Linked DNA regions of Homo sapiens: regions 1, 2 and 4 are each linked to region 3. The links are contacts of gene promoters, found by promoter capture Hi-C in blood cells and fetal thymus (Javierre and others, 2016). All regions are on one chromosome and are shown on one strand. The core of a region is centred on a gene start or on the middle of the fragment in contact, and the rest is flanking DNA. Distances in the headings are between cores, read along the strand shown.

What was found. The method cuts DNA at HindIII sites, captures the fragments that hold promoters and counts their contacts. A CHiCAGO score of 5 or more calls a contact.
Region 1: a fragment that was not itself captured here is called in contact with the fragment with the promoter of NBEAL1 in region 3 in 1 of 17 cell types (neutrophils); the score reaches 6.0 in neutrophils.
Region 2: a contact is called between a fragment that was not itself captured here and the fragment with the promoter of NBEAL1 in region 3, in 3 of 17 cell types (neutrophils, endothelial precursors and monocytes). The highest score is 6.8, in neutrophils.
Region 4: a fragment that was not itself captured here is called in contact with the fragment with the promoter of NBEAL1 in region 3 in 1 of 17 cell types (total B cells); the score reaches 5.8 in total B cells.

The regions. Positions count from the first base shown.
Region 1 is chr2:202,604,957-202,611,939 of GRCh38, forward strand. No RefSeq gene overlaps it. Among named protein-coding and RNA genes, the nearest start is that of FAM117B, 27 kb to the right of the region's middle. RefSeq lists an enhancer at 4,750-4,989. The HindIII fragment of the contact is 8,722 bases long and covers 1-6,385 here.
Region 2 is chr2:202,586,860-202,594,088 of GRCh38, forward strand. No RefSeq gene overlaps it. Among named protein-coding and RNA genes, the nearest start is that of FAM117B, 44 kb to the right of the region's middle. The HindIII fragment of the contact is 2,502 bases long and covers 1,880-4,381 here.
Region 3 is chr2:203,012,584-203,019,255 of GRCh38, forward strand. It overlaps NBEAL1 (neurobeachin like 1), which reads left to right and starts at 2,292. Exons shown (of 56, transcript NM_001378026.1): 1 at 2,292-2,399; 2 at 3,573-3,852. The coding sequence starts at 3,802. RefSeq lists an enhancer at 1,972-2,525 and silencers at 2,164-2,393, 5,683-5,977. The HindIII fragment of the contact is 7,356 bases long and covers 1-5,181 here.
Region 4 is chr2:202,556,776-202,563,812 of GRCh38, forward strand. It overlaps BMPR2 (bone morphogenetic protein receptor type 2), which reads left to right. Exons shown (of 13, transcript NM_001204.7): 13 at 2,921-7,037. The coding sequence ends at 3,171. Among named protein-coding and RNA genes, the nearest start is that of FAM117B, 75 kb to the right of the region's middle. The HindIII fragment of the contact is 429 bases long and covers 3,705-4,133 here.

The sequences.
Region 1 (6,983 bases), core at 775-3,274, 410 kb before region 3:
TAGAAAGGCAGGAGACCAGAGCTCTGACCTGGCTCTGTTATCATTCCTGTGGTCTCTAGAAAGTGACTTTCCCTCCCTGGGCCTCAGTTGCCTAATTTGTAAAATATGAGACTTGGATTACATGAGTTCAAAAATGTTTTCGGCTCTAAAATCCTATGATTCTACCTTCTGAATTATGAAGGATTTAATTTTTTTCTACCTTCCAAGTAAAAGCCATACCTAAGCCTCATGGAATTTGATCACCCCTACCTTTTCCTGTGAATGTTAACAGGCCTTCTCTGCTCTGTTTGCTATAATTGGAATGATTTAGTTCTTATTTCAATGGTTTCAATGATTGTTTTCCATTTGTCATTCTACCAAAGAAGTAATTGGCACAATGATTAAAGGTGATCTATGACTCAGATTTTCTGCTGGATCCCTTTCAAGTGTTACTTCGCAAATCTCTAGACCTCCTCCCCTCTATGTCTCACTCATACAGAGTTGGATACCAACTATGGATCTGATTTTTTTTTTTTAATTTTAATTTTATTTTATTTTATTATTATTATACTTTAAGTTTTAGGGTACATGTGCACAATGTGCAGGTTAGTTACATATGTATACATGTGCCATGCTGGTGTGCTGCACCCATTAACTCGTCATTTAGCATTAGGTATATCTCCTAATGCTATCCCTCCCCCCTCCCCGCACCCCACAACAGTCCCCAGAATGTGATGTTCCCCTTCCTGTGTCCATGTGTTCTCATTGTTCAATTCCCACCTATGAGTGAGACTATGCGGTGTTTGGCTTTTTGTTCTTGCGATAGTTTACTGAGAATGATGATTTCCAATTTCATCCATGTCCCTACAAAGGACATGAACTCATCATTTTTTATGGCTGCATTGTATTCCATGGTGTATATGTGCCACATTTTCTTAATCCAGTCTATCATTGTTCAACATTTGGGTTGGTTCCAAGTCTTTGCTATTGTGAATAGTGCCGCAATAAACATACGTGTGCATGTGTCTTTATAGCAGCATGATTTATAGTCCTTTGGGTATATACCCAGTAATGGGATGGCTGGGTCAAATGGTATTTCTAGTTCTAGATCCCCGAGGAATCGCCACACTGACTTCCACAAGGGTTGAACTAGTTTACAGTCCCACCAACAGTGTAAAAGTGTTCCTATTTCTCCACATCCTCTCTAGCACCTGTTGTTTCCTGACTTTTTAATGATGGCCATTCTAACTGGTGTGAGATGGTATCTCATTGTGGTTTTGATTTGCATTTCTCTGATGGCCAGTGATGGTGAGCATTTTTTCATGTGTTTTTTGGCTGCATAAATGTCTTCTTTTGAGAAGTGTCTGTTCATGTCCTTCGCCCACTTTTTGATGGGGTTGTTTGTTTTTTTCTTGTAAATTTGTTTGAGTTCATTGTAGATTCTGGATATTAGCCCTTTGTCAGATGAGTAGGTTGCGAAAATTTTCTCCCATTTTGTAGGTTGCCTGTTCACTCTGATGGTAGGTTCTTTTGCTGTGCAGAAGCTCTTTAGTTTAATTAGATCCCATTTGTCAATTTTGGCTTTTGTTGCCATTGCTTTTGGTGTTTTAGACATGAAGTCCTTGCCCATGCCTATGTCCTGAATGGTAATGCCTAGGTTTTCTTCTAGGGTTTTTATGGTTTTAGGTCTAACGTTTAAGTCTTTAATCCATCTTGAATTAATTTTTGTATAAGGTGTAAGGAAGGGATCCAGTTTCAGCTTTCTACATATGGCTAGCCAGTTTTCCCAGCACCATTTATTAAATAGGGAATCCTTTCCCCATTGCTTGTTTTTCTCAGATCAGATCAAAGATCAGATAGTTGTAGATACGCGGCGTTATTTCTGAGGGCTCTGTTCTGTTCCATTGATCTATATCTCTGTTTTGGTACCAGTACCATGCTGTTTTAGTTACTGTAGCCTTGTAGTATAGTTTGAAGTCAGGTAGCGTGATGCCTCCAGCTTTGTTCTTTTGGCTTAGGATTGACTTGGCGATGCGGGCTCCTTTTTGGTTCCATATGAACTTTAAAGTAGTTTTTTCCAATTCTGTGAAGAAAGTCATTGGTAGCTTGATGGGGATGGCATTGAATCTATAAATTACCTTGGGCAGTATGGCCATTTTCATGATATTGATTCTTCCTACCCAGGAGCATGGAATGTTCTTCCATTTGTTTGTATCCTCTTTTATTTCCTTGAGCAGTGGTTTGTAGTTCTCCTTGAAGAGGTCCTTCATGTCCCTTGTAAGTTGGATTCCTAGGTATTTTATTCTCTTTGAAGCAATTGTGAATGGGAGTTCACTCATGATTTGGCTCTCTGTTTGTCTGTTATTGGTGTGTAAGAATGCTTGTGATTTTTGTACATTTATTTTGTATCCTGAGACTTTGCTGAAGTTGCTTATCAGCTTAAGGAGATTTTGGGCTGAGACAATGGGGTTTTCTAGATATACAATCATGTCATCTGTAAACAGGGACAATTTGACTTCCTCTTTTCCTAACTGAATACCCTTTATTTCTTTCTCCTGCCTAATTGCCCTGGCCAGAACTTCCAACACTATGTTGAATAGGAGTGGTGAGAGAAGGGATCTGATTTTCTTTTGCTTCTTTTTTTTTTTAAGATGGAGTCTTGCTCTGTTGCCCAGGCTGGAATGCAGTGGCACAATCTTGGCTCACTGCAACCTCTGCCTCCTGGGTTCAAGTAATTCTCCTGCCTCAGCCTCCCAAGTGGCTGGGATTACAGGCACCCACCACCATGCCCAGCTAATTTTTGTATTTTTAGTAGAGACGGGGTTTCACCATATTGGCCAGGCTGGTCTCAAACTCCTGACCTTGTGATCTGCCCACCTCAGCCTCCCAAAGTGTTGGGATTACAGGCATGAGTCACCACGCCCGGCCTTTTGCTTCTTTTGGAATTAGGAGGGGGGTCATAGGATGTCCTCAGGATCAGAGATCCAAGGAGATATCTGGAAGGAAGAATGTGTTCTCTCGGTAAAGGAAGGGGAAAGCTGCCATGTTGCTGACTTTGCTATAGCAGATGACAAGGAGTTAATTGCAGCCTAACTCCTCTCCTCATTGTGGGGGTTACTGGCTTTGCAGTGTCTTGGCAAAGTCTCATAGACATGTCATGGCAGCCTATCCCTTGCTTTCTTCTGTCTACATGCCTACACACCCAGGGATGGAGAATCAAGAGATCAGTTTTCTGGCTGCCATTGAAAGGATGCTCTGTCAGAAGCAAAGGCTTGACTTATTCTGAAGATTACCCTGATCTGCAAAGCTGCAGAATGCATAGTTATTTGTTACCTGGACTTAAAGTAAGGCAAGGCCCAGTGTCACATTACTTTGCCTCTAACAGACCTTTCTTGCAATGACTGTTTCATGCCATCAGTCACTCAACATTTACAAAGCACTTACCTTAGCATGAAGGAAAGGTTGAAAAGGAAGAGAAACCATGATCTCAGGGATTGAAGACTGAAAAATTGCTGTGAGAATAGAGAATGCTCAGAAACATTAAGTACTATAAAAACAAATACATATTAACATAATACATAGTATTTCCAGAAATATTTAGAAATTAATTGCAATGATCAAACCTGGATGGAGTTAATCAGAGTCATGGCACCCAGTGGGATGACTTAGAACCATGAGGGGAAGTTAGATAACTTGCTCTAGATCATGCAGCTGTAAAAGAGGAACTGCAGTTTGAATCCAGGCACTCTGGCTCCAAACTTAACATCGTACTAGATTGCGTCTCTGAAGTCAAAGAGCAAGGAAAGAAAACTACCCTAGTGCAGTTGTTGAGAGTATGACCTCTAGACTCAGACTCCCTGGGATTCCATCCTGCCTCTAGCATTTACCATACACTCCTGGACAATCCACTTACCATTCTATCCTTTCTTTTCCTTATCCATAAAAATGGGGATAATAGGCTGGACGCGGTCACTCACACCTGTAGTTTCAGCACTTTGGGAGGCCTAGGTGGGCAGATCACGAAGTCAGGAGTCTGAGACCAGCCTGACCAACATAGTGAAACCCCATCTCTACTAAAAATATAAAAATTAGCTGGGCGTGGTGGCATGCGCCTGTAATCCCAGTTACTCAGGAGGCTGAGGCAGGAGAATTGCTTGAACCCGGGAGGCGGAGGTTGCAGTGAGCCAAGATCGTGCCACTGCACTCCAGCCTGGCAACAGAGTGAGACTCTGTCTCAAAAAAAAAAGAGGGGGATAATAGTAACTGTGTATGAAGTTGCTATAAGGTACAAATGTGGTATATAGTGTGTAAAGTGTGCAGCCCAGTGCCTCAGACATAGTGATTGCTCAATAAATGTTAACTATCAATAAAATGATTATTATCATCCTATTTCTAAGAACCTGAAGTCCTACCAGGATAGTAACTCTAATTGCCAGAATAAGAAGGGGAAGTTTGGGTTGAGGTTATTTTCCAATCAGAAGTCCTTGAAGGAAAATCATGTCAGAAGGGAGGGAAAGGAAAGGAAACCAAGACTCTGGTTAGTGTAGACCCTCTTGGGTTGTGGACAAGAGAGTATGGGATTGCCATTTTATTAGTAACTTATACATTGTGCATGAATTTAACTTCCCTTTTGGTTTCCTCTTTTCATCCTCACTATTACTAGACCATGCATATATTGAGAAGTAATCTATGCTGCAACTCTCCCTCAGAACTGTACGTACTTAAAATCAAGTTAGTAGAGATTTTGAAAGGACTGTGCTTTAAAGAAAACACAAAAAACCAGTAACATAATAGATGATTGTCCTTATTCATAGGTCAGGGAGCCACTAGTCCACTGCAGCTCTTTTCTCCTAGAGAGATCTTCAAGAAGAGGTCTTTGTGCCCCATATGTAATGACTACTTAGGAGCTGAGTCAAACAAAGAGTCTTATTTTAGTTTTCTAAATACCAAGTCTGGGCAGGCCTGTGTTTTCGCTACATGGGAGGAGTCAAGTATCTTTTCACTACATGGGAGGGGTAAGTGGTTAAGTTTTTTCATATGTTGGCTGCCTAAGTCATTCTGCTTGGTACCGTGGCTCAGTTAGTTTTGTCAACTGACCAAGGACTATATAAGTGAGGGCAAAGCTACACCCCACTGTGTGTAACAGGAAGGAGTGACATGGCACTCTGCCCTTTGAATTCATTGTGTATTCTGGGCCTGGCTAAGTGATATTGAGAAAAGATAGCAGTAATCTTTGGTAACATTAGTGCTCTTAAAACCATTCACTCACAAATATTTATTGACAATAGTAGAACATCTGTAAAGAACACAGTATCTTGCAAATAGTAGAAGATCAAATTTTGTGGACTATAAACCAATGTTTGGGCTGTACATTTGCCAATATGCAGCATTTAACTACATTTCTTCAAGCAAAATTCAACTATATCTTCAGAGTAAAGAATAGGAGAAAAGGAATGAATTAGATACAATGTCGTTTGGATGTATTTTTCTACATTCAGCTTCCCCGCTATTAAGAAATCGCAGCTCCAGTTCAGCAGTGGTAAAGTGATTGCTATCACACAGCAATGAGTGGTGTCTGTGAGCTCATGTTGAGCAGTTGTTACAGAATTTGAAAGGGCAAGGCATATTTCATGTACGAGTCCTCAACTATCTCCATCAAGCTGTCACCATAGAGACTGAGAACTTAAAGACTTCCTTTCAATCATCTTGGAAGGGAAATGTCTATTTCTGGCTGAGGCTTGGCCTCTCTGGAGAGGAGTTTATAAAGCATGTCTTACTATCTGCTACGTAGTGAGGAATTTAGGACAAAATTTGGAGTAACCTTATGGGGTAAGATAATCAGCACTTTTAAAAAAAAGGAAAACCTACTTAGATTAGCGTAGAGCTAGATCCTATAAGTCGGTTGTGACGTGGATAGGATTTAGGTACTCTGGAAATCACTAATCTTCATGTTTTGTGACATATAGGTTATGGGAATGGTTAGGGTTATAATCCAGTTATAACCCAGAAAGAGGTAGGCAACCTATAGGACAATCACCACCCTGGGATTTTCTGCAAACAGTTGTCATAAACTTAAATATCAGTTACCAAAGATCATATGGTTTTAGCAATTTTTTTTTTTTAGCTGCTACTTCCTTTGGTCCTTATAGATAGATAAGACCAAGCACCTCTTCATAGGTTTCCATTTTTTGTCTCTACTGTAAGACCGATCAAATGGTTTTTAAAGTAATCTAATTTTGTTTTCTAGAAAGATGAGAGAAGTTTAGTCTTTCAAATAGCCTATGTTAGCACTGATTCTCAAGCCAAGTAGGACCCATGGAAAAACAGGATTGCTTTCAGTCTGTTTTACCTCTTGGAACATTAATTCCATAAGGAAAGCACTTCATTAAATTCTGCTGACATAGAAAGCTTAAAAAATGTGTTTCTTGGTTCTTTTTAACTATACTAAACTTTTTTCTTTGGGCTGGCCTTGGTGGCTTACACCTGTAATACCAGCACTTTGGGATGCCAAGGCGGGAGAATGGCCTGAGCCCAGGAGTTCAAGACCAGCCTGGGCAACAAAACAAGACCCCCGTCTCTACAAAAAACCCACAAAACTTATCTGGGCATGGTTGTATGTGCCTGTGGTCCCAGCTACTTGGGAAACTGAGATGGGAGGATTGCTTGAGCCCAGGAGGTTGAGGCTGCAGTGAGCCAAGGTCACACCACTGCATTCCAGTCTGGGAGCAAGACCCTGTCTCTAAAAGAAACAAAACAAAAAACAAGCCTTTTTCTTTGGATGCTTCCAAAATTGCATTGGAATCCATTAAATTTTAAAATGCATACCCTTGGGTATCACAATTTCACTTCAAGGAATTTCTTCCGGACAAATATTCCCATTAAACGAAAGTCCATTCTGAACTTGAAGTGCTCAGGCTAATTCCTGCACTTGGCTCCAAGAATGCTAGGCAAGAGACTGGCAAATTCTCTTCTGGAAAAAAATCAACAGCACAAGAAAGCACATT
Region 2 (7,229 bases), core at 1,881-4,380, 420 kb before region 3:
CATCCTAGGGGGATGTTATTCCTTTTTTTATTTTTTTATTTTTTGACGGAGTTTTGCTCTTCCACCCAGGCTGGAGTGCAGTGGCGCGATCTCAGCTCACTGCAACCTCTGCCTTCCGGTTTCAAGTAATTCTCTTGCCTCAGCCTCCCAGGGGGATGTTATTCCTAATGTCACAGGGTATGTCCATCATGTGTGCACACCCCCTATGATATTATTTGTAATATCCTAAAGTGATGTTACTTCTAATGTCACAGGGGGTGTACCCCATGTGGGTAAACCACCAGTGATATTATTTGTAATATCCTAGGGAAATGTTACTGCTCATTTCACAGTGGGTTACACGATGTGTGTACAACCTGTGATATTATTTGTAATATTTTAGGGGGATGTTACACCTAATGTCACAGTGGGTGTACGCCGTGTGTGTACACCCTGTGATATTAATCGTAATATTCTAGGAGGATGTTATTTCTAATGTCACAGTGAGTGTACACCATGTGTGTACACCCTGTGATATTAATCGTAATATTCTAGCGGGATGTTAGTTCTAATGTGATGGTGGGTGTACACACATTGGCCAGGCGCAGTGGCTCACGGCTGTTATCCCAGCACTTTGGGAGGCCAAGGCAGGTGGATACAAGGTCAGGCATTTGAGACCAGCCTGGCCAACATAGTGAACCTCCGTCTCTACTAAAAATACAAAAAAAAAAAAAAAAAAAAAAAAAAAGCCAGGCTGGTGGCGGGAGCCTGTTGTCCCAGCTACTCGGGAGGCTAAGGCAGGAGAATCACTTCAACCTGGGAGGTGGAGGTTGCAGTGAGCCCTGATTGGGCCACTGCACTGCAACCCAGGCGACAGTGTGAGACTCCATCTCAAAAAAAAAATCCAAAAATTAGCCAGGTGTGGTGGTGCATGCCTATAATCCCAGCTATTTAGGAGGCTGAGGTATGAGAATGGCTTGAACCCAGGATGTGGAGATTGCAGTGAGCCGAGATTATGCCATTGCACTCCAACCTGTGTGACAGAGTGAGACTCCATCTCAAAAAAAAAAACAAACAAAAGATTTTTACTTTTTCTTATTCTCTCTTAGGAATACCTATGATTTATAGGATTGGCCACTTTACATATTCCCATATTTCTTGAAGGCTTTGCTCATTTTTAAAAATTCTTTTTTCTTTATTTTTGTCTGACTGGGTTAAATTAAAAGACCTGTCTTCTTCTGCTAAATTTCTTTCTTCTGCTTGGTCTAGTCTATTTCTAAGTCTTTCAACTGTGTTTTGTAATTCCTATAATACATTTTTCATTTGCAGAAGTTCTGTTTTTTTAAAATATCTATCTTTTTAGTAAATTTTCTTCTTTTTTGTAAATTTTTCATTCATATCCTGTATTGTTTCTCTAATTTTTTCATGTTGTTTTTTTCACCTTTTCTTGGATCTCATTGAACTTCCTTACAATATATATTTTGAAAATTCTTTGTCTGTAATTTCAGAATTTTCATTTTGGTTAGTATCTTTTGCTGGAGAGCTAATGTAATCTTTTTAGGTTGTTGAAATACTCTGTTTTCTCATACTGTCAGACTTCTTACATTGGTTCTTTCTCATCTGGAGAATCTCTCACTACTTGTTTTTGAATTTACTTTTCATTGCATGGGACTTTTAAAAGAATTATCCCCTTCAAGGGTGTGACTGTAATGTATGTTGTGAATGGTTGTTTGGCTTCAATTCTGGGTGCTGTCAGGGTGCCAAAGTTCTGTATGAATTCCTTGGTTATAGTTAGCCTTTGTGCAGTGGCTTTCTCAAGTGCTGGTTGTAGTAACACTGTGCTGGGCATATTAGCAGGCTCACTACCTTCTGCAGAGCTGAGACTGTGGAGGTCTCAGGAAGCTTACCTGGTTCATAGCGCTGTGCACTTCGGTCAAAAGGTTTTGTATTGGGTTGTGCAGTTCCGTCTCTAGACCAGCAGGTGGCGAATACGGGTAAGAGCCAGATGCCCAGGGTGTGTGCGTGCTTAATCTTTGTTTACTGGGAGGGGCTGTCTGTTGTCTCAGGCGGTGGGCTGATCTGTGGGTGGACTGATCTGTGGAATGCTGGGTGCCCTGAGTTCTCTACTTACCCCAGGAAAGGAAGACGAAGCTGGGTGCAGCTGGACTGCTAAGCTCACCTTCGGATACCCCAATGACAGTGGAAGCACAAACCCTGATGAGGCTGGTCGGGGGCTTGTGGTGAAAAGCGCTGAGGTTTCCATCACAGGCAGAGAGGGCTGCACCAGCTCTATGTCCTGACCAAGAAGGAATGCCATCTGCCTCCCAATCACACCCCTGTCCCGAGGCTTTGTGACCCTGAAATAGGCAATGTCGTTTGTCTCTAGGCTGCAATATAGCTGAGGGCCACAGAAATGCCTGTCCCAGAGCCCTCCACTGAAACGGCTTCCCGTGGGAACCTCTTCCCTCAGCTGAACACAGACAACTTTGTGGCTTCGTTGATCTCTACTGCAGGAAAACTGTTGCTCCATGTAGAGAGGGAGAGGGGCCCTACTCTTCATGCAAGCCGGGCCTGGGGTGGTGGGAACACTGCCAGTTGGGGTGCACCCACCCCTAATAGCCCTGCATTGACCATCCATAGGCACACCTGTGCCAACCCCCCACAGGAACAGCCTGGCTATGTACACAGCAATGATTGTAGGGGAGAAGTCCCCCTCTCTGTGTCCCTTCTTGAGCACCAATGCTGCCTGCCCACTGGGGTTGAAACACACTCCTCCAGCACCACACCTGCCTCTGCTGCAAGGGGCACAGTCACCTTCAGTGCGCAAGCAGGGAGCTCTCAGGCACAGGAGACCCTGTACTCTCGTCTCCTTTGTCCCAAGGGGTGCTTTGGCACGGTGTACACTCCCTTCCCCTATGGACAGTTTGCCCTGAGGGTTACACCTCCAGCAACGCCACAGCTCCCCCTGGATCCCACTGGCCCTTTGTGGTTGCTACAGCCTGAGGAGGTGCAAGGGAATGTTTACAGGGGATCCAGTAATGCAGCAACACAAGGGCTGAGACTCCTTGGGCAGGACAGAGGCCCTCAATGGGTGCACAACCAGTATGGCACCCACCACCTCAGCTCGGGTCTACGGGCAGGGTGAGCAATCCTGCATGAGCTGGCAACCTGGTGCTCTGCCCGCAAGAAGTTCTCAAATCACTGCTCATACTGGTGCCAATTCAAGAGGGTAGAGGGGCTCTTCAACAGTTTGGAAACCAGCAGTCTGCTGCAGCAAGGGTGAGTGAAATGAGCTAAAAACATCCCCACCTACCCTTTCCACAGGACTGCAAGTCCCTTGGGTATTATCTCTGCCAAACTCTTGCTTCCCTCTTTTTTCTGTGCCCCAACTTCTTCCTGTGGGTTCTGTCACTCTTCGATCAGTATTCCACTTGGGCCATGATTATTCACCTTTGGTTCTTCTCTCTGAGGAGAACTGGCATCCAATGTTTCTAGTCAGCCATCACTGATCTTCCTGTTCCTCTTTCCCATATCAATTTCTACTCATGGCTGTTGGATATTTCATATTTCCTCTCCAGATCTACCCTCCCCTCTGCTCTCTGCTACAAGAAGCTGACTAGTTTGATATTTATTTATTTATTTATTTGAGACAGTGTCTCACTCTGTCGCCCAGGCTGGAGTGCAGTGGCACCATCTCGGCTCACTGCAAGCTCCACCTGCCGGGTTCACACCATTCTCCTGCCTCAGCCTCCAGAGTAGCTGGAACTATAGGCGTGTGCCACCACGCCCGGCTAATTTTTTGTATTTTTAGTAGAGATGGGGTTTCACCGTGTTAGCCAGGATGGTCTCCAGCTCCTGACCTTGTGATCCACCTGCCTCTGCCTCCCAAAGTGCTGGGATTACAGGCGTGAGCCACTGCACCCAGCCTATTTATTTTTTAAAAGACAGAGTCTCACTCTGTTGCCGAGGATGGAGTGCGGTGGCATGATCAGGGCTCACAGTAGCCTCAAACTCCTGGGCTCAAGTGATCCTCTCACCTCTGTCTCCCAAGTAGCTAGGACTACAGACACATGCCACCATGCCTGGCTCTTTTTTTTTTTTTTTTTTAAAGAGATGGGGTCTTACTATGTTGCCCAGGATGGTCTTGAACCCCTGGCCTCAAGTGATCCTCCCACCTTAGTTTCCCAAAGTGCTGGGATTATAGGCATAAGCATAATGCCAAGCTGATACTTAATTTTTTGAGGAAACAATTTCTAATTACTTTTTCTCCTTATTTTCTCTTCTCTGATACTTTCTACCTAAAAATTGCTTTCTTACATTCAGAATTGTTGAAGAGGCTTCAGTGTCTCTTTGTATATTATCATAATAAAAACAAACAGGTACTATTTTCCTATTACTATAAAGCTTTTTGAGTCTTTAATTTTTCATTAGGATTCCTCTAGATGGCCGGGCATGTTAGCTCATGCCTGTAATCCCAGCACTTTGGGAGGCTGAGGTGGGTGGATCACAAGGTCAGGAGATCAAGACCATCCTGGCCAACATGGTGAAATCCCATCTCTACTAGAAATACAAAAATTAGCCGGACGTGGTGGCATGTGCCTGTAGTCCCTGCTACTCAGGAGGCTGAGGCAGGAGAAATGCTTGAACCCAGGAGGCAGAGTTTGCAGTGAGCTGAGATTGCACCACTGCACCCCAGCCTGGGTGACAGAGTGAGACTCTGTCTCAAAAATAAAAAATTAAAAAAGATTCCTCTAGATGTATAAACTGACTGAAAGTTCTCCAGTTATAAGAACGTATATTGGAAGTTTTAGGTGGCAAGTGAAGCTACTGATAGCTGCTTTACTAAAGATGAACATGAAATAATGAGGAAAGGCTGGGCACGGTGGCTCACACCTGTAATCCCAGCACTTTGGGAGGCCGAGGCAGGCAGACCTGGGGACGGGAGTTCAAGACCAGCCTGACCAACATGGAGAAACCCCATCTCTACTAAAAATACAAAATTAGCTGGGCATGGTGGTGCATGCCTGTAATCCCAGCTGCCCGAGAGGCTGAGGCAGGAGAATCGCTTGAACCTGGGAGGCGGAGGTTGTGGTGAGCCGAGATTGCACCATTACATACCAGTCTGGGCAACAAAAGCGAAATTCCATCTCAAAAAAAAAAAATAAAAAAAAGGAAAGAATGAGACATGACTGTATCTATCCTGATAAATCAAAATACCTCCAAATAATCTGGGGAGTGCTAAAGTATCATGGATTATATCTGACTCAGCAATCAAATTTCAACCTATTGGGGTGATGGGGGGGAGGAAGTCCACCCTTTCAAAGGGATTTACGCAGAAATAGTTTATATTTCTCATCCCAAAGCAGATTTGAAGAATTAAAACCAGAAACCAGGCCCGGTGCGGTGGCTTATGCCTGTAATCCCAGCACTTTGGAAGGCCAAGGCGAGAGGATCACTTGAAGTCAGAAGTTTGAGACTAGCCTGCCCAACATGGTGAAACCCCGTCTCTATTAAAAATACAAAAAAATTAGCTGGGCATGGTGGTGCACACCTGTAATCCCAGCTACTCAGGTGGCTGAGGCAGGAAAATCTCTTGAACCCGGGAGACAGAGGTTGCAGTGAGCTGAGATCTCACCACTGCACTCTAACCTGGGTGACAAGAGTGAGACTCTCTCAGAAAAAAAAAAAAAAGTGAAAATAAAACAAGGAACCAGAACCAAGATTCTTCAATTCACAGTTTGAATAAAATTATGGAAATAGTCTCTCCTAAGGTATGTAGAATTTCAGTAAACCATGCTCTATCTAGTCCTCCCTCTCAATTACTTCTGATTTTCTGTATCATATACATATCTGCATACAAGAGGAATACTTTAAGCTCTATTCTCTAAGAAAGGAGGAAAGCATGATGAGCATAGGGCTAAATTTAGCCAGCCAGCTGTGTTTTGTTTGGCCTGCAGAGTATTTAACATTTGTTTTTATCTGAATGCCTTTTAGGTGGGACCTGGACCTTCCCCAAACCCAGCAACTTCCAGTTGTCTTAATCCAACTAGATTTACCCATTTATATTACCTTCCTAATCTTTGTAATCTTTGGTTTGTACCTGCTGTAAGAACTTTCGTCGCAGACATAATGTGAATATAAGAGCCTAGAGGAAAAGCTTGGCATTGTGGAATTGAGAGGAGGGGAACTTGAGAGGTGAGCCATCCCTGTCTAAGACTCTGACGTAGGGCAGCTTTTCTGCCCTCTCCAGTGGTGCACACTTTTGTCTTCTTCCATAGGAAGTCCATGGTTACCTTATTTCTCCATTCTCCATGCCCACATCTCTCACTGAAACCTGTATCTAAATAAGGTTCCAATACTTATTCATGGGATAAATGACTACCCAAAACTAAACAAAACTGGCTTACCTTAAACCCCAAATAAACTTTCATTATATAAGCATCACCAAGCAAATGGGGTACTCAGAATCATCATACACTCAGCTTGGTTGTCTGCATAGAAGCTTCTCTCTTTTTTTTTTTTTTTGAGATGGATTCTCACACTGTCGCCCAGGGTGGAGGGCAGTGGCGTTATCTCAGCTCACTGCAGCCTCCGCCTCCAGCGTTCAAGCAATTCTCCCGCCTCAGCCTCCCGAGTAGCTGAGATTACAGGCAGCCGCCACCACGCCCGGCTGATTTTCTTTTCGCATTTTTAGTAGAGACGGGGTTTCACCATGTTGGTCGGGCTGGTCTTGAACTCCTGACCTTGTGATCCGCCCACCTTGGCCTCCCAAAGTGCTGGGATTACAGGCGTGAGCCGCTGCTCCCGGCTGAGGCTTCTCTTTTTAATGCATTTTTCTTTTAACTTGATAGGAGAAATAAAAGTAGAAAAGGAAAGCCATGCTTGAGTAAAGAAAGGTTAAACAAAAAGAGTTTCAAGTCAGTCTTTTAGCATGTTAGGACCAAAGGGAAGAGGCATTCAGGAATATTCGCTCTAAATCAAGCCCCTGCCTCCCTGCTAACTGAGGCCAAGAAGTACGGAGCTGTGTGCTAGTAACTTCAGAAACTCACCCCAGTGTCCTTCACCTTCACAGTCTTATTTGTACAAAGATTTATTTGTACTGTTTCTCACCCAAAATTTTTCTAATAGTAACCCTGGGCTATTTATTCTTATAGTCTCTCCTGTCAAAGAAAGCAGTAGATGATATCCTTTTATCTATTTCAAAGTTAATGAGGCTGGGTGCAGTGGCTCAGTCTGTAACCCCAGCACTT
Region 3 (6,672 bases), core at 1,042-3,541:
GCCGAGATCACACCACTGCACTCCAGCCTAGGTGACAGAGTGAGACTCTGTCTCAAAACAAAAAAAAAAAAGAAAAAGATTTTGTGCAGACATCTGGGGAAAGAGATGTCCAGGTAGAAGGGTTAGCATGTGAAAATCCCTGAGGCTGGAGTGTGCTTTGTGCCTTTGAAAAGCAGCAAAGAAGTCATGTCTCAAGTAAGGTAAGAAAGGCCAGAATAGTTAGAGAAGTCAGAGAGGAAAATGTTGGAGGAAAATGAAGTAGGTCCTTGCAGGCCTTTTAAAGTGGAATGGGAAGCCATTGGAGGCTTTTTAGCAGAGAAGTGACATCTTACTTCCATGTTAAAAGATCTCTGTGTTTGCTATGTTGAGAATAATCCACGGATTTGGGGTAGAGTCACGGGCAGAGTCAGGGAAACAAGTTGGAAGGCTATTACAATAAACTAGAAAGTATTTTGTATAACTTAAACCATTTTAAAGACAGTAGCCACGGCTAGGTGCAATGGCTGACGCCTGGAGTCCCAGCACTTCAGAAGGCCGAGGCAGGAGGCTCCCTTGAGCCAAGGAGTTCGAGACCAGCCTGGGCGACATACGAAGCCCCTGCCTCTAATTTAAAAAAAAAAAAGGGAAAAGAAATAAAGATAGTGGTTACTACTACTATACCACCATCCATTTAAGGAAGAAAGTGTGGAGAGATGGTTAGGTATATTTTGGAGATATAGCTGAAAAGATTAGATTGGAAGTGAAGTACATGAGGAAGACAGCAAGCACACTTCCTAGGTTCTTGTACTGAGCAAGTACAAGAATAGAGTTGCTAAGTACTAAAATAGGGTATCCCAAAGGAAAAGCATATTTTCCCCCCAAAATTTTGACATATAAATTTCACATGCCTAATGGACAACCAAGGAGAAATGCTGAATGTAAAATGTAATTTCAGGATAAAAAATTGAAGGTGTAATTTGCAAGCAACTACTCTCAATTCTGCCATGGTAGAGTGAAAGCAGCTATAGGCAATACTAAAGGAATGGGCATGGTTGTGTTCCACTAAAATTTTAGGACACTGAAACTTGAATTTGAATTTCGTCTAATTTTCACATCTCAAAATATTGTTCTTTTGATTTTCGTTAAGCAAGTTGCAACCAGAATGGACTGCAAAGCCTATAACATTTATTGTCTGGCTCTTTTTATTTTATTTTTATTTTTTGAGACAGTGTCTCGCTCTGTCGCCCAGGCTGGAGTACAGTGGCGCCATCGGAGCTCACTGCAACCTTCACTCCCAGGTTCAAGCGATTCTCCCACCTTAGCTTCTAAGTAGCTGGAACTACAGGCGTGCACCACCACGCCAAGCTAATTAAAATTTCTTTTGCAGAGACAGGGTCTCATTCTGTTGCCCAGGCTGATCTCCTGGGTTCAAGGGATTCGCCCGCCTAGACCTCCCAAAATTCTGGAATTACAGGCGATAGCCACTGCGCCTCGTCTCTGGCTCTTCACAGGCAATTTGTGGATCCTTGTTACAAATGAAACAAGATGGGACATTAGTTGATCATTTTTGAAGTTGGGTGACGGTATACAGGGTTTCGTTATACTAGTTTACTTTAGAATATACTTGAAATCTTTCACAATAAAAAGTTGTGGAAATGTTTAACAAAGGTGAGTTATCTTACGCGTTTTTCTTTCCTTATACAAAAACCAAATCTCTCTGAAAGTTGTCTATAGTTAGTAAAGCCTTTTGCTTCTTTTCTGAAAAAGAAAAACCCTTTCGAAGTCTTTAGTGGTGGTAAAATAAGCCCTTTGGATATGACACTCGGTGACGACGAAAGCAGGCACAAAAGGAAAAGAGGAGTTTTTGGGGGGTGTCTGTGTGTGTTTTGTCTTTTTACATTACTCTAAATTCCCAGAACCAATCCCGGTTCTACAAATAAGTGAAACAAAATCCCCTTTAACACCGTAGGGTCTCACGCCCTCAGATGACTCACGGAAATGACGCCATCAGCGAAAAGCGGGGCGGGCGTAGACGTCAGCACGTCAGCCCTCCTCCATGTCCAGCTGAGGGAAGGCTCGTTTCAGTGCCGCGGCCGGCGCCCGCCAAGGGATGGGCAGCCAGAGCCTGTCGACTGCGGCTGCGCAGGTATGCTGGGGCGGGGCTTCAGGTCACCCCGCCCATCCCCAGCCTACGCGACCATTGAACAGCTGCCGCCCAACGGCTGGGTAAATCCTCAGCGGCCGAAATGATTAGCCCAGGGGGCAGCCCCGCCCCCTGCTCCTCCCGGCCTCTCGCCCCGCCCCCATGTCCCGCCCGCTCGTCTGCCTGGCTGCGGGGTGACACGGGGCTTCGCCTTGGGAAGGGGTCGAGGGAAGCAGTTAGACGGCTGCCGGGCGGCGGCTGCCGCGCGGCACACAATGTGAGCCCGGTGATGGGGAGCGGGCCGTTGGGAAGAGGGGGCGGCATGGCAAGAAATGGGAGGGCCCCGGTGCTTGGTGGTGGAGGGGCTGCAGAGTGAGGGGCGGCTTTGAGTGGGCTAGGCTGTCAGGGAGTGTTCCGATACTGTAGTGCAGGCTGGGATCGCGGTCGGGAGACGCCGAGTCCGCATTCCTCAGTTCTAGAGCTTCTCTTGGCAGCTCGGCACACCTTAAGTTTGCCTCTGTTTGGGTTGTCTTGGGATGTGAGGAGGAAATTAAAAGATTCCCCCAAACACTTGGATGCTTCTTTGGGAAGTTCCTCGCCGGTGTGTGCGTGCCCACTTCTCTTGGATGGAAAGGTGGAGAGGCCAGGTGGGCGGGTGGACTTCCACTCTCCGAGGATTGTTAGAACAAACGAACTGGGAATTCCTCCCCCGCCCCCACGCCCTGCCCTGCAACACAGCAAACAGTCCCAACTACTCCACCCCCACCCCACCCCAGACGGAGTCTTGCTCTGTCGCCCAGACTGGAGTGCAGTGGCGTGATCTGGGCTCACTGCAGCCTCTGCCTCCCGGGTTCAAGCAATTCTCCTGCCTCAGCCTCCTGAGTAGCTGGGATTACAGGTGCCCGCCACCACGCCCGGCTAATTTTTTGTATTTCTTTAGTAGAGACAGGGGTTCACTGTGTTGGCCAGGCTGGTCTCGAACTCCTGACCTCAGGTGATTCACGCACTTGGGCCTCCCAAAGTGCTGGGATTACAGGCGTGAGCCACCGCGCCTGGCCCCAACAACTTTGAAGAGGAGACCAGAACAAGAACATTCTAAGAGCTTTGATGTATTTGAAATGTCTGAGATGTGGGCCTTTTCCTTGTATCTGTACAAAAGGTATGAGTGGGAAGGGAGTCTTGCTCCTTATTCTCACTGGACGCATTCTTGGTTATGAACATGTACCCATCTCTAGGAGTCTGTCTGCCCTAGAGGATTCTATGGTGGACATACTGTGTTAGCTGTGATGTTTTCCTGAAACACAAGTTTCTATGAAATCTAATCAGTCCATGTGAAAGTATAGCGGGTTGTTTGTGGGAAGTGAAGAAGATACATCTTTAGTTTTTGATAAGTCTAGATTTTTTAGTATGGCCTCTTTTTCTAACCTGTGGATGTTTTTCTCTTTCACAGATTTATTTAATTGCCCAACTACCACTGATGAAGATATATTGGAGTGACTGCTGAAATTGCCTTTTTGTTTTTAACCAGAGGACAGTCCATTTGTTTCACTTCTTTTTGCTTTCTTTACTGCTATGAGCTTTACTGAACGGCTGAAAAACTTGGAAAATAAAATGGACATGCTGTAGTCTTGAACATAATTTTTTTAAGGAAAACTTAAAGTGCCAGAGTGAAAGCCAGAATGGCATCCAGAGAGAGGCTCTTTGAACTTTGGATGCTTTATTGTACAAAGGTAATTGCTTTCCTTTTTATTTTTATGTTTTAAAATACTTTATTATAAAATTTGTGACTGGCAGTAGTAACACTTTATTTAATAGATAATAGTGTATTTAGTCATAATGAATAACCCCAAACTTAAAAGCGTTTAAAGGATTTTCTGTTTTCCTCTTTTTCAGGTTTGAACACACATACAATATTGGCATACTGTTAAAAACTGTAGGGTGCGGCTTTTATTTGATACTTATCCCCAAATGATCCTAAAATTATATAAGTAAAATTATGCCCTTAAGAGAAAAATAAAATATTTTTATTTTTGTTTGTGCTTTTCATTTTCTCCCACAAGTGAGTGTAGGATAGAGACATTTTTATGAGAAGGGCATTAAGCATTTTTCTTGGAATGAACCTTTGAAATTGCATCACAAGGTTATTGATTGAACTGCGTGCTGTGTGACTGCCACTAAGTTAGCACTCTTTGAGCATTGTCTCATTTCCTTCTCACTACAATACTGTGAGGTGAATATTGTGATCATCCCCTTTTACTGATGGGAAAACTGATGCAAGGGTTACAGGAGTACTGAGTAGCCGAGAAACACAGTACTACCTGACTCAAGTGCGTACTTTTATCCATTTTTACTCCTTAATATTTTTGTCACTCAGAAATAATGTTCTTTCCCCTCCTTGTCTTTATGTGAATTTTTACTTGATAGCTTTGATTTTAGGTTATTGAGAAGAGTACTCCTTAAAAACATGTTTTTCAAGTGAGGAGGTACATTATTACTTTGAAGATACTGGCAAGGGTCAGAGAAACACCCCTAATGTACTATTTGAGTTAATTTAAGTATGTGTGGTGAAATTCTCAAGTCACAGCTTCTGTTTCTGCATTATCCTTTCATGCTCCTTAAAAGGCAGATTATTATTTAACAGTGGTCTCATTTATCTGTCATATTAAATTTAGAGATTACACTGGAATTTTCTTTGACTTCCTGGTTTGATATATATTATAATTGCTAAAGGACATACACTTTGAAATGCTTAATATGAATTTTTAAAATAGCTTTTAGTCTTGCATAATTTAATACCAGAAATGTCTTTTTAAAAATAGACGCTTCCAATAAAAAAGGAATCCAATTCACCACTTTTGAAAATAGTCACTAACACGTTAACCAAAAATTAAAATTAATTTTTAGTATGAATACCTAGTAGTTTGAAAATGATTTATTTAAAAATACATCAAACTTACTAGGTTTTACTGTTTTCAAAATGATATTGGTGAATGGGGTTACGTGTCTCATTAATAAGTTACATTCTTTTTAGGTATATTTACTATTAAATTTAATATTAAAGCTTATTAAACAGATAGTATAGTTCATTGGCATACACTGAATTTTATTCTTAATGGCTTTTAATATAAACATGCATCCCTTCTCCTTTGAAATGTTAATCCTCAATAATGAAGGCCCCTCACTGTCAGATTTTGAAGCCTATCTCTTCTTGGACAGGAATATAAATCTCATTTTTAGGTTTAATATTTAAATAATTTGTGTGCTTAATACGATTTAAAATTTTTTCACTTGTTTTCAAAGAATATTTATTTAAAACCGTGATTTTATATTTTACCAGTTAACGGATAAGCTTTTTGTAAGGTAGACAACATTCTCTTCTGCAGACACCTTGAATCAGGTAGCTACCAAATATACCTCATAGATTTAAGTCTTCTTTCTAATGAGGATGACTACCAAATACTGTACCCAGTTGTTCTCTATACTTTTTGCCTTATTATTCTCACTCTAGCATTTAGCCTCTCAAACCAGCTGACTTTTTTTTTTTCCCAGCTGACAAACTTTTAAGGCTTTTTTTTTTCACACTTTTAATGAGCTTTCAGACCACTTGAGGACTCAGATCTTCTTATGAAAATATTTTCTACCACTTAGTTTCAAAAGCTTCTTAGACCTCTTTGTGAGCTTGAAATCGTAGTTTAGTTTTGGCTCTGCTGCTGCTTTGTTTTGTAACCTTGAACAAGACTTACTCTTTGGGTCTCAGTTTTTCTCATTTGTTGAGTAAGCATGTGTGCATGTATGTATATACAGGGAGAATGCTTATCTAACTCAGTATTCAGGTTTTTGTTTGTTTTTACCTCTGAGGGACAAGCAGTTTTTTTTGTTGTTGTTGTTCTTATTCTGTAGATGGTTATGTAGAACTTTTTAGTTCTTTCTTTTTAAAACTTTTATTGTGGAAATTCTCAAGCATGCACCAAGTAGAGATGTTATAGTGAACTCTTTTGTGTCTGTCACCCAATTTTGACTATTACCAGCTCATGTTCAGTCACAGTTTATGTATAACTGTCAATTTGCCCTATCTCCTAATTATTTTAAAGCAAATCCCAGACAATTTATGATCTTATCTGTAAATATTTAAATATGTGTAATAACTCCTCTTAAAAACAATCATGACACAATTTTTAAAATTATCAAATATGTGATCAATGTTCTTACTTTCCTCCTAGTTTCTTAATATTCGTATTTTCCCACTGTTTGGCTCAGTATTTAAAACAAAGTATACATGTATTTTGTTGAAAATATCTGCTAAACATTTTCATGTATAGGCTCCCCTTCACCATATTTTTATTCTTTGCTGTTTATGTGTTGAAGAAACCAGATTTTGACCTTAGAGTTTTCTACAGTTTGAACGTTTTGCTCATTGAATTCCCTTGATTTTATTTAATTGTTCCTCTCTTCTGGTATCTGGAAACTGACCGAACAGAGGCCTGATTGATTTGGGTTGTTTTGGGTGTGAAGGGCTAGAATAATTTATTAGTGTAGCGGCCATCTGTGAT
Region 4 (7,037 bases), core at 2,669-5,168, 450 kb before region 3:
ATCTCTACTAAAAAATAAAAAAAATTAGGCCAGGCGCGGTGGCTCACGCCTGTAATCCCAGCACTTTGGGAGGCCAAGGCGGGCAGATTACTTGAGATCAGGAGTTCAAGACCAGCCTGGCCAACATGGTGAAACCCCATCTCTAAAAAATACAAAAATTAGCCAGGCGTGGTGGCGTGCACCTGTAATCCCAGCCGAGATCACGACACTTCACTCTAGCCTGGGCAAAAAAGTGAAACTCCATCTCAATAATGAAATAAAATAAACCATTTGGGCCAGGCGTGGTGGCTCATGCCTATAATTCCAGCACTTTGTGAGGCCAGGGCAGGTGGATCACCTGAGGTCAGGAGTTCGAGACCAGCCTGACCAACATGGTGAAACCCCGTCTCTACTAAAAATGCAAAAATGGCCAGGCACAGTGGCTCATGCCTATAACCCAGCACTTTGGGAGGCTGAGGCAGGTGGATCACGAGGTCAAGAGTTCAAGATCAGCCTGGCCAAGGTGGTGAAACCCCTGTGTCTACTAAAAATACAAAAAATTAGCCGCGTGTGGTGGTGGGCACCTGTAATCCCAGCTACTCGGAAGGCTGAGGCAGAGAATTGCTTGAACCCAGGAGGCGGAGGTTGCAATGAGCCGAGACTATGCCACTGCACTCCAGCCTGGGTGACAGAATGAAACTCTGTCTCAAACACACACACACACACACACACACACACACACACACACACACACACACACAAATTAGCTGGGTGTGGTGGTGCCCACCTGTAATCCCAGCTACTTGGGAAGCTGAGGCAGGAGAATCGCCTTAACCCAGGAGGCGGAGGTTGCAGTGAGCTGAGATTGCGCCATTGTACTCCAGCCTGGGCAGCAAGAGCGAAACTCCATCTCAGGAAAAAAAATAAATAAGCCATTTGGTTGGGCCTCAAAGGTAATTAGACTATTGTAAAGAAAAAAGTAATATTTTTGTCATTGATAATTAAAAAGTCAGTGTCACAATAGTCAGAATAATTACCCAATTTAATATGTGCTTTATGTGGCTGCTGCTTTATAATGCAACTCACATACTTGCTATGAAAAGTTGAAATAAAGTAAATACAGTTCAAGAGCTCCAAGTAATGTTATACCAGTATAATCTTTGAAACATTTTATTGCATATATTAATATTGATTATGTCTGCATTTAGGTTTTATCAAACTAACCTTAATAAATCTTAAAGATCCAGAGAAATTTTGGGAAAATTACTATAAAGAAACTGTAGGCTAGGCACGGTGGCTCACGCCTGTAATCCCAGTGCTGTGGAAGACTGAGGTGGGTGGGTCACTTGAGGCCAGGAGTTCAAGACTAGCCTGGGCAACATAGCAAAACTCCATCTCTACAAAAAATTTAAAACTTAGTTTGGTGTGGTGGTCTGCAACCTCTGCCTCCCGGGTTCAAGTGATTCTCCTGCCTCAGCCTCCCGAGTAGCTGGGATTACAGACATGTGCCACCATGCCCTGCTAATTATTGTATTTTAGTAAAGGAGGGGTTTCGCCATGTTGGCCAGGCTGGTCTCGAACACTGGACTTCAGGTGATCCACCCACCTCAGTGTCCCACAGTGCTGGCATTACAGGCGTGAACCACTGCGCCCAGCCTATTTCTCTTTTAGACTAAGGCATTTATGAAAAAAAGTTATGTTTTATTGTCAAGGGCTACAAAATGGGCTTGAAGGAAGGATACAGGTCTCAAAACACAATCAGGAAAATTTAGCCCCTTGCTTGAGTGGCTTGTATTACAGATCAGTTGACAGACCTTTATTGCAGGGCTCTGAGTCAGTAAGACATCGTGTCAGATAGGCCAGGCATGGTGGCTTACGCCTGTAATCCCAGCACTTTGGGAGGCTGAGGCGGGCGGATCACCTGAGGTCGGGAGTTCGAGACCAACCTGACCAACATGGAGAAACCCGGTCTCTACTAAAAATACAAAAGTAGCCAGACGTGGTGGCACATGCCTGTAATCCCAGATACTTGGGAGGCTGAGGCAGGTGACTTGCTTGAACCTGGGAGGCAGAGGTTGCGGTGAGCCGAGATCATGTCATTGCACTCCAGCCTGGCAACAAGAATGAAACTCCATCTCAAAAAAAAAAAAAAAAAAATCTTGTCAGATATAGGAAGAGGAAATTATTAGAATGTTTGTACTCTAATATTTCTGTTATTCTTCTGAAAAATATTGTATGCCAGGTGCCTTTAAAATTTGATCCAGGCTGGGCATGGTGGCTCACACCTGTAATCCCAGCACTTAGGGAGGCTGAGTCGGGCACATTGCCTGAGCTCAGGAGTTTGAGACCACCCTCGGCAAGATGGTGAAACCCCCCGTCTCTACTAAAATACAAAAAATTAGCTGGTCATGGTGGCATGCGCCTGTAGTCCCGGCTACTTGAGAGGCTGAGGCGTGAGAATCACTTGAGCCCGGGAAACAGAGGTTGCAGTGAGTCAAGATCATGCCACTGCACTCCAGCCTGGGCTACAGAGTGAGACTCCATCCCCCAAAAAAAAAAAAAAAATTTGATCCACCTTGAGCATTAAATACAATTAAATACAATAATTAAGTACATTTTACCAAGTTAAGATCGCTACCAAAACCAGAAGATTTGAGAATACAGCTGAGAAGTTTAAATGTTCTCCTGTGTTTTGTGTGTGTGTGTTTTCCCTTGCCTTATAAAATAAGTCAATCAGTTATTAAAACATTTGGGTTAAAGAGTCTCAAAAATAAGTTGGTTAAGCTTTTCCTGGAAAAACATTGTCTGGCATTATGAATTTCAAGAAATGTTCATTAGCACCCTCCTGAGACATTGGTTTGACCTTTTCTTGAGTTACATCCCTTACCCGTTATTTCTTAAGTTTGTTAAATAGCTCATTTTTCTGCACTTTTATTTTCAGTAGGTGAGTCAACACAAGATGGCAAATCAGGATCAGGTGAAAAGATCAAGAAACGTGTGAAAACTCCCTATTCTCTTAAGCGGTGGCGCCCCTCCACCTGGGTCATCTCCACTGAATCGCTGGACTGTGAAGTCAACAATAATGGCAGTAACAGGGCAGTTCATTCCAAATCCAGCACTGCTGTTTACCTTGCAGAAGGAGGCACTGCTACAACCATGGTGTCTAAAGATATAGGAATGAACTGTCTGTGAAATGTTTTCAAGCCTATGGAGTGAAATTATTTTTTGCATCATTTAAACATGCAGAAGATGTTTAAAAATAAAAAAAAAACTGCTTTATCCTCCTGTCAGCACCCCCTCCCACCCCTGCAACAAAGACTTGCTTTAAATAGATTTCAGCTATGCAGAAAAATTTAGCTTATGCTTCCATATTTTTAAATTTTGTTTTTTAAGTTTTGCACTTTTGTTTAGTCTCGCTAAAGTTATATTTGTCTGTTATGACCACAGAGTTATATGTGTGTGTATCAAAAGTGGTCTCAAAATATTTTTTTAAGAAAAAAAGCAAAAACAATGTATTGCTGATAATCAGTTTGGACCAGTTTCTTAAGGTCATTAAAACAGAAGCAAATTAAGACAGGTTTGACTGCAGTGGTGTCTGGTATCCATGTTTTATTTCTGGGCACAAGCTAGTTTTTATGTTGATACGTTCCTGAACATATTATCTTGTTGGACATCTTTTCTCTTGTGTTTTGTTTGAATGTGCAATAGTTTATAGGCCACAAATAAGCTTTCTTGTAAGCTCTCTTCCTAACAGGGCACATATTCTTCCATAATATAAACACTTTTCTGCCCCATCTCCCATACTTTTGAAGGTCAGTTCTATGACAGTGAATTTTGCACAGGAGAAGCAGCTACCTGATTTCTTACTTTCTCTCTCCTTATCATGGAGAATACAGAAACATTGTCTGAAAGGGCTCTAAAGAAGGAACTACCAAAACCTGACTTGAAATGCCATTTCTTTTAACCTTCCAAATCCTAAATGTTTCCTTCAAGGCATCTTAATAAACTTATTTGCTTCTGGTTTTGGGAGTTCATAAGAGAGAATAGAACAAAATACAGGACATCAAATATTAGCCATTTCCCATTTTATTTTATTTTTCTATGTAGGTTCATGTTCCATGTTCATTTATTTAAGAAATACATTTTTATTGGTAAGCTTATAGAGCTACACTTATGGAATTTTTAAGTAGGTAAATAAATGGTTAAGACAAAATAGTGTTATAGCCTTCATTCTCTGAATAGGCCATCTTTGACTCATAAAATTACCCTTACTGTTTATTATAACTTCAGAAGTAATTTATAGTTCTGAACCTATAGTATCTTTTACCCTGTTCCCAAGCAAAGACTGGTGACTTTATCTGAAAATGATTCCTCTTCCCATGACCTAAAACACTGTGAGGAAAAATCATTCAAGTGGCATGCCAAGTCCCTATGAAGGAAGGGCTGCTATCAAACCTACCTTTTTTGAGCAAACTGAGACTAAACTTCTCTCTTTTCAAAATTGTGTTATCTTCCTTAATCCTATTTTCATAATTTTTCCTTTTGCCAGTTTTTCACATTATCTTTGATATGTGAGCAACATTTATTATTTACATTAGAGTATACCTTTTAGTAATAAAATGACTTGAAATCATATTATTTTTAAAAGCCCTTTGCTTCTTTCATTACTTATAATCTCCTCTAAAACAACCTCTGCATGTTTTTTTTAAATAAAGCACTTTCTGTCAAATAATGGACTTTTTTCTAAACAGAAATTATTTTCTATTAATTTGCAAACTGATGATTTCACTTTTTTTTACTTTTTTTTCGATTATCAGAGTACTTAGTAAATGTTATATAGTTTAGTTCTAAGATAGTTCCAGGGATTAAAAGGTTAAGAGGAAAACACAAATCACCAAATTTCTGATTTATGTTTTTATCTCCTGAACAATATTTTCTCACTCATATTCCTCTATCTTATCACTTAGCTAAAGACAGCCTAAATTTCCCAATTTTCTGTCCAAAATATTTGTGATTTACTTGTATATAAGCCTTCTCATTTGCCATGTGCTGTGATCTTACAAGTTAGATGTTACTATACCTACCATTTATTCAGCTGGATTGCTGAACACAGTTCTGGATTCATAGAATTAAGAATATCTTGTTAGTGCCCAGGATTTCCACGTTTTGTGTTTTATTGGCCCTTTTCTTTATTCAGCCCCTTAATCTATTTTCAGTCTTCTGGCACGTAATTTTTTTCACAGTTATTATTCTTCTATTAACAAATTATTTTTATCTTTCCTAGTACATTTTCACTTAGTTCTCTTGCCCTTAAATATCTTTCACATGCATTTTAGGATATTCTTTTCAAATATTTGTAGGACAACTTTGAATCAAAATAAATTATGTTCCTTCTCCAATTTGAAGCATTGAGGATAAATGACCATTTGAGGTCTAACTGATCTTTTCCTGCCAGAAGAGTTATCTTACGTTCTGCTATATTTGTATTTGGGCCAGTTGATTGTAGGTTGTCCAACATTTTTTAATATTGGGAAAATTATGATAAAATGCTTTAAAAATTAATATGCCAGATTAAAATAACTGAATAGTTTACTATTTCATTCAAGCATGTTTAAAACAAATAATTTCCTTTCACCAGTTTTTCTTAGTAAACTCCTGAAAAAGTAGGAAAGGTGGAAAGTATATATCATTTTTATAAATTTTAAATTGTACATCAGACTTTTAAAATCTGTAATATACAAGCAAGCAAAATTATTTTAAATGACTTAATTGTATGCTAATACTCATCTGATAATAAATGCTTCTTAAAGTTGACATTTAACTGCTATCACAAAGTTTTATATGTAGAAAAGTGGGGTCCTTTTGAATAAAAGATCATTCAACTAAAAATATTAAAATTTATTTCACTGGATGGTAATGTAACCTTAAAAGCATCATAATAGGTAAAGTCTAATATTAGTTCCCTTAACAAAATCCTAACTGTATACCAGAATTAGGTCACTGAAAGAACTTGATTTGAATTACGTTTAGACAAAAATGATTTAATTGTAAATTCTTAAAACTTTCTAAATGCATAATTGGCAAAAAAAAAAACCCACTGTTACCAGTGTAGGAAGTTACAAGAAGGCACATACTGAATGCTGAAGTATACATATGCTATTTCTCTTAAACCTCAGAGCAACCATATGAGCATTGTAATTAATATTCCCATTTTACAGATGAGGAAACTGAAGCTAAGAGAAGCTAAGTAATATGCCCAAGGTCCACATCTAGTAACAGACAAAGCTGGGATTTCAGTCTATGTCTGCCTCTCTCCACATCTCTTTCATCCATACCACACTGCCTACATGCCATATGACAGGATGTGTAATGGGCTAACGTTTATTTAAAAAGTTCAGGCCAGGTGCAGTGGCTTATGCCTATAATCCCCGCACTTTGGGAGGCCGAGCCGGGTGGATCATGAGGTCAGACGTTCAACACCAGCCTGGCCAAGATGGTGAAACCCCGTCTCTATTAAAAATATTTTTTAAAAATTAACTGAGCGTGGTGGTGGGCGCCTGTAGTCCCAGCTACTCAGGAGGCTAAGGCAGGAGAATCTCTTGAACCCGAGAGGTGGAGGTTGCAGTGAGCTGAGATCGCGCCACTGCACTGCAGCCTAGGCGACAGAGCAAGACTGCCTCAAAAAAAAAACATAAAAATTCAGTCACTATACTCTGGCACAATTTTCATTTGTATATGAGCCAAACCACATACCTTAATGATTTGGGAAGTTAGGCAAATATGAGATATGTAGACATATCTATGCTGATTGTTGCTTGAGAAATAATTACTAATTCTAGACAAAACTCAATCCTGTATCTTCCATCATGAATCTTAAAATCATTTCACTTCACTCCTAACATTTCTTACATTGCAGAACTAATGGTAAAGTAAATTTTACGGAAAAAGTTAAGATAGCTTTGGGAACAGAGACCTTTCCCTAAATTGATTCCATAGCAGATTTGGGGGAATTAACAAAGAATTTCAGTCTCATCAATCCTTTGAATCCATCTTCAAAA